2 separate regions of the Homo sapiens genome follow, and region 2 is linked to region 1. Evidence: promoter capture Hi-C in human tissues and cell types (Jung and others, 2019). All regions are on one chromosome and are shown on one strand. Each heading gives the region's core, a stretch centred on a gene start or on the middle of the fragment in contact. The rest is flanking DNA. Distances are from core to core; before and after follow the strand shown.

Region 1 (3,393 bases), core at 424-2,923:
AAAAAGGAATGTGAGCAAAATCTACAGGAGTTCAAAGGAAGCAGAGATTTCAGTGGGTTGGAGGATCAGAGAAGCTTCGTGGAAGAGACCGCATTTGAGGCAAACCTTGATGGATGACAGACTTCTGCCAGTGAAGAACTGGAGGGGAATGAAGGGGCAGTGGCCACGGCAGGGGGTGACTGAACAAGTAAGGAACCCTGGAGATGCAGGTGTATAGGGGAGCAGGGAGACAATATGTGAGAAATACAGTAAGTGGAGGGCACAAGTCTTACCGAATTTTGAAGACAGCAAAGCAGATGCTGAGATGAAAGTCTCTTTTAGGTTGGAGTTAGAGCCAATGTGGGTTGGATTAAAGGCGATTAGACATATAGAGAAAAGGTGACTCATGAAAAGCAATATTAGTTCAAGCCATGCATAATGGGATTAACTGTGAATATACCAGAAGGGAAATGGGAATGATTCCAAGAGTTTGAACCAAGGGAGTCAGAATGTTGGGGAGGATTGATGTATGTCTTTTGGCTGATGGCCAACTATTGCTATTAAAACAAGAAACCCACATCAATCTCTTCTTCACAAATATAGAAACAGGTTAAATCCTGAGCTGGGACATTTAACCCACATGCAGGGTTTGGCAGTGCATGGGGAGAGTGAGATGATGGTAGCATAATGAAAAATATAAGAAAGCTATGTGCATTTGCCTCTACCATGCACATCTATACACCCAGGTTCCTTGGGTATTTGGCAAGGAAAGACACTAGGTCAAAATCATTTTTCTAAATATTTAGTAGTCATAGAATATAGAGTAAAAATGTAAGGAAATAAAGAACTAGTCCCAATGTGTAGTGGATGGTTTGGGGATTAGACAGAAACACATAGGTGGCTGGGAGCCTGAGGCACTAACGATAGCTGTGTTACCATCATCGCTGACAATGGAAAACATAAGCACTTGAGCCATGTTCAGGGACTATTTACAAAGAAAAGGAGTGTGCATGTTCTTCTTGCAAAGAGCATGTACACATACACACATAAACACACATTTCCCCTTTTCATAAAATTGGAACACAAGGCAAACACAGCTTCTCATCCTCAGTCCATTTCTGATTCTGCTGCAGTGATATAAAGTCACTGGTTTTACTAACACTGCAGTTGGCACAAGGTCCTGTGGTTCTAGGCAGAGGCTAGGGGTGAAGGTGGGAATGGTGGTGTAGAGAGGAAAGCTGTGGCCTGGTACTGATATTTCTACTGCTTCATGCAGCTGGCAGAGTAAAAGTTGCCATTGCTCACAAACACAGCATGTGTCAGAGGTTTGGGCTCTTCTCACTCTACAGCTGAAAGGGATTGTCTGTTTAGAGATGAGGTAACTGAGACCCTTTAAAGTTAACTTGCTTGTCTAAGGCTGCTGTGCACAAGCCTTGCCAAATTTTGAGTGGGATTCTAGTGAGTTTTCCCCAATAGCAGGGAAAAACTATCTTTTACTAGTTACAAGGTGCTTCTCAGAAAGTGACTCACCTTTGGTGGGCTACTGGGAGCAGGCGAGCAGGTGTGAGGGAGGTTTCCTGCACCGCTCTTGTCAGTTGCAGAATGCGCTTCACTGGAGTCAACAGACGCTGCATCTCCAGAGGAGCAAGCAGAAACCCAGCAGTTCAGAAACCCAGCAGAAACCTTGAAAGAGATGCCCAGTGGTGCCCGGCAGGACTTTATAAAGCCCCAAGACTCCTGCCTCCCTAAGCCCCGCCTCTGCTCACCGTGGCTCAGTCTGCTTCTAAAACTGGGTCAAAGGGCTCACTCAGAACACGGGCGAGTCAAAGACAAACAGCATCTCTCCAACATGTACATAGCTGCCCTGCTCCTGAGCATGTGTGGGAATGGCTGGGCATTGTTCCTCCTACTCCATCAGGCTCTGTGGCAGCCTTGATTCTGCCCAGCTACCTAAGCAGGAGGTTATGATGTTCCTTGTTGTATCACATCCCAAGGTAACCCTATGTGTCTTGTTTTAGACCCTGGCTCCTTATCTGTATTACTCTCACTGGGTGTTCCACACTCCTCTCTGTGGTGTTAGTTGTTATTATTTTAATGTGCTATGCATTATAAGAAACATCTTTCTAAACCAAAGGGAAACTCTTTTAATAGTAGCTTTTCAAGGAGTTGGGAGTGAGTGTTGGCACATAGGCCAAGGGCTGGGCGTTAGAGTATGTGGAACCTACTATATTTCTCCTGTTTATTGTCCACCCTTTTACTTGTACAGCTCTACACAATTTCCAAGTGGGATGAAATTAGTGTTGTAGTAAAGGGACAGGAGCCTCAAAGAGGTGACAGTTTGAAGCTCAATCTCCTAAGGAGGAAAGGTTTACTTTATAGATGAGGTCAGAGTTATGTATAAAGGAGTCATTTTCCCAAAGACCTGCAGCTAGGAAGTTGCAGAATGAGAACTCAACCATGTCTTTTGACTCCAGATTCTGGTCCTTCTGCTTTGCTCTTCTACTACTCAATAAAAAGGCTCCTGCCATCTGATTTTCCAAATGAATGTCTCCCTCCACTCCTCCCACAGCACCAATCTTCCTCTACCTTTTGTGAGTCATGCATTCACTCCTTAGTTCATTCAGTCATCCCCATCACCAACCCCCTGTCTAATATGAGTGTGTAGGGAACACAGAAAAGAGCTGGAGTGGTTCCTGCTTTAGGAGGATATAGTTGACTTCATGTTCCTACAGACAGAGAATGTCTAGGTGCCCCCAGCAGTCCAGGATATCTAGGTCTTCCATCTTATCTTTAAATTCTTATCTCCATATATCTTGGTGTGTTGGTGTTCTAACTCAATCTCCTACCTTGCTGTGTCACCTCCTGCTCTTACACTCAGCCTTTTGCAAAGTTCTGTCGTCAGTGAAATTCTTCATTTCCAATCTCTTCTCTGAAATACCTGTTGCTTCTTGTCAATCCAATGCACTTTAAATGCTTACAACAAGGCCTGTGTCCTCTTTGCTTCATACTATCTCTTCCAGGGTATTTCTCCTCTTCCTCCTCTCAAAACCCCTGCTGTCTTAAAGCACATGCTACAGTCTGTGCCACCCAGTGCCCTTATTCTTGCAGTCAACTAACTGTCATGTTCCACTGTCCCTCATTGATAAAATTTAAGCACATAGATCACTACTTTCCTCTCCACCATCAGTCATCTCAATGGATGTGAGATGTCAATCTCCACATAAGATAATTCACCTGCCCTAGCCTCTCACTGAAGCTCCCACAGCCATGTCCGTGTTCATGGACATGACTTTAGCCTCCCACTCCACAGTCATAATGTGGACTTTGTTATTACAGTGTCTATGCCACCTCCAACATTTTAGTTTCATGCATTCCAATTTCCAACCACCTCTATATTCCCTGCTCCTGTTTAAA
Region 2 (3,393 bases), core at 258-2,757, 61 kb before region 1:
AGGACATAGGCATGGGCAAGGACTTCCTGTCTAAAACACCAAAAGCAATGGCAACAAAAGCCAAAATTGACAAATGGGATCTAATGAAACTAAAGAGCTTCTGCACAGCAAAATAAACTACCATCAGAGTGAACAGGCAACCTACAGACTGGGAGAAAATTTTTGCAATCTACTCATCTGACAAAGGGCTAATATCTAGAATCTACAATGAACTCAAACAAATTTACAAGAAAAAAACAAACAAACCCATCAAAAAGTGGGCAAAGGATATGAACAGACACTTCTCAAAAGAAGACATTTATGCAGCCAAAAGACACATGAAAAAATGCTCATCATCACTGGCCATCAGAGAAATGCAAATCAAAAGCACAATGAGATACCATCTCACACCAGTTAGAATGGCGATCATTAAAAAGTCAGGACACAACAGGTGCTGGAGAGGATGTGGAGAAATAGGAACACTTTTACACTGTTGGTGGGACTGTAAACTAGTTCAACCATTGTGGAAGTCAGTGTGGCGATTCCTCAAGGATCTAGAACTAGAAATACCATTTGACCCAGCCATCCCATTACTGGATATACCCAAAGGATTATAAATCATGCTGCTATAAAGACACATGCACACGTATGTTTATTGCGGCACTATTCACAATAGCAAAGACTTGGAACCAACCCAAATGTCCAACAATGACAGCTGGATTAAGAAAATGTGGCACATATACACCATGGAATACTATGCAGCCATAAAAAATGATGAGTTCATGTCCTTTGTAGGGACATGGATGAAATTGGAAATCATCATTCTCAGTAAACTATCGCAAGGACAAAAAAACCAAACACCGCATGTTCCCACTCATAGGTGGGAATTGAACAATGAGAACACATGGACACAGGAAGGGGAACATCGCACACCGGGACCTTTTGTGGGGTGGGGGGAGGTGGGGAGGGATAGCATTAGGAGATATACCTAATGTTAAATGACGAGTTAATGGGTGCAGCACACCAGCATGGCACATGTATACATATGTAACAAACCTGCACGTTGTGCACATGTACCATAAAACTTAAAATATAATAAAAAAAATAATAAATAAATAAATAAGTACTGAAGGATGGGGCTGCCTTGCCCTCCCCAGCAAAAAAAAAAAAAAAAAAAAAAAAGTTAATTCTTCCGTGATTTTTGTGCCGTTTATGTTTTTAGCTTTTACATTTCACATGTAAATTATTTGAAATTTGTCTTGGCATAAAATTCAGATTTGACTTTATTTTCTAGATGACTGTCCACTTGTTCAAACAATATTTATTGAATGATTCTCTATGGAGTGTATTTATGGTAATAGCCAAATGTAAGGAATTGTCGACGGGGAGAAAAGTGAAGTTTAATCAAGATTGTCAGTGAAGATATGCTTGGCTAAGCCATTTCTTTTTGTCCTCTTCTCCCTCCTTTCCTTTCTTCTGCTTTCTTCCCCTCTCATTCTCTTCTGTTCTTTGTTTTTCTCTTTTTGTCGTATTCATATGTAACTTGATTCATTCTCTTTGGGGATAGAAACATTTTTAAATTTTCTTACGAATTAAAAAATTCTTTAAATTTGTAAAAAAAAAAAAAGTTCCCTCTGAGTAGGGACTACATGTGACTTGTTCAGCATTGTTATTCCAGTGCCTGGCACATAGTCAGTACTATAGAAATATTTGGGCAGGTTTCTTGAATGTGCCACACTTGTTCTGTTTTTCCTTCTGCCTCGAATTCTCTTTTTCTTTAATTCTTTGCATAGCCAGTTTCTTCTTATTTCAGTCTCAACCCAAGCTCCACCTTTTCAGGAAGGCCTTTCCTCATCATAAAGTCTATGATTCCTCTCCCCTAACCTGTCTTTCACATCATCTGGTTTTACATTATTTATTATATATGCCCTGAGATTATCCAGTTCAATTTTTTGTTTATTTATTTATTTTCTATCCTCAAACGCAATGTAAGCTCCATGAGAGCAGAGACGGTCTTAATCAAAGCTTCATTTCCAACCCCCTCAGCAGTGCCTGACACATTACAGTTTCAATAAATATACACTGATTGAGTGGATGAATGAAGGAAAGTCAAGCACTAGAGATTACACTCACTTGTATGCTTTGCCTTATTTAATCCCTACAAAAGCCTTATGAAGTAAGCACTATCATACTATTCATTCCATATTACATAGGAGAAAACTAAGTCTTAGGGGGGCAATGTAATTTGCCCAAAATCACATTGTTCATAACTTGAGAAGCTGAAATTCAAATCAAGATATGCCTGTTTTACGGATGACAGTTCATTTTCTGCATCTTAAAATATCATTTTATTTCTTTTTTTATTATACTTTAAGTTCTAGGGTACATGTGCACGACATGCAGGTTTGTTACATATTTTATTTCTTATGATTCGAGTTTGGATATCACAGCTGGTCTCCAAGCAGAAAAAGAGAGTTCCTACTCTCCTCCCCTTAACCCCATTAACTTTATCCTCAGAGTTACAGGCGGAACAGCTGGACATCTTGCAACCTTAGGTAGGGGTAGGTCTTGCCTTGACAGATTCACTACACACAAGGAAGCAGGAGTGTGTACATTATTTTAGGCTTCCAGCTTCGAAAGAGAGAGCCAAAAGGGGCTGGCCTGGGCACGCACTAGGACCTTTTCCCCAAACTTCACTAATCAGAGTGGTTTTCTCTTCTGAAGGGGTTGGGGCCAGAGGAAGGGAGAGAAGGAGGGGTCTGAGGAGAAGGGCAGAACTGTTTTCCTACTACTTCCAAGCTGGCCAAAGTTCCTGTTTTATGGATGGATGCAATAACACAGGGAGAGGGAGAAATTTCCCCAACTCCAACCCTCAGTTATCAAAGAAAAACCCTTAGTTTGCAATTGATGTTGGAGATTCTGGGGTGTAGTGGTGAGGGATATATCTGTATTGGCAGTATCAGGTCTCAGCCCGACCAGCAACACATTTGATGATATCGCTTCTAAAAATCACTCGGTACCTCTGTACTAACTTTGGAGTCAAGTTTAAACTCCTCCTCAGGGCAAGACACTTCATGAGCAGCCCCTGGCCCCTCTGCAGTCTCACCTCCTGGTATCCCACTGGCATCCCCCACAGCCATGGTAGAGAAGCCATGAACATGTTGCAACTCCTCACAACTCTAAGCCTTTGGAAATGTCATTTCTTCTCCCCCGGCTAATTCATATTCAGCTCTCAAGATTAGGCAGTTAACCATGAGCAGCTTCAAGGCAGGTTATGTTTTACCTATCTCTGTATCCTTGAGCCTCTCAAAGTAGCTGCCTTGAATGAGTTTCAAAAGGTTAGCTGAAAGGCAACCTTGCTTGGAAATCCTCCTGGCACCTCAGGAGATGGTTCTCCTCCTTGCTCCCAAAGCC

The links. Contacts are between HindIII fragments. The study calls those that stand out against the background at their distance.
Region 2: a contact is called between a fragment that was not itself captured here and the fragment with the promoter of HMGCS2 in region 1, in 2 of the 25 tissues and cell types used here (bladder and neural progenitor cells).

The regions. Positions count from the first base shown.
Region 1 is chr1:119,767,232-119,770,624 of GRCh38, forward strand. It overlaps HMGCS2 (3-hydroxy-3-methylglutaryl-CoA synthase 2), which reads right to left and starts at 1,674. Exons shown (of 10, transcript NM_005518.4): 1 at 1,510-1,674. The coding sequence starts at 1,613. RefSeq lists a silencer at 1,255-1,549. The HindIII fragment of the contact is 5,763 bases long and covers 1-3,393 here.
Region 2 is chr1:119,706,067-119,709,459 of GRCh38, forward strand. The region is part of intron 1 of LOC105378937 (a long non-coding RNA gene); the gene reads right to left. Among named protein-coding and RNA genes, the nearest start is that of PHGDH, 4.2 kb to the right of the region's middle. The HindIII fragment of the contact is 3,951 bases long and covers 1-3,393 here.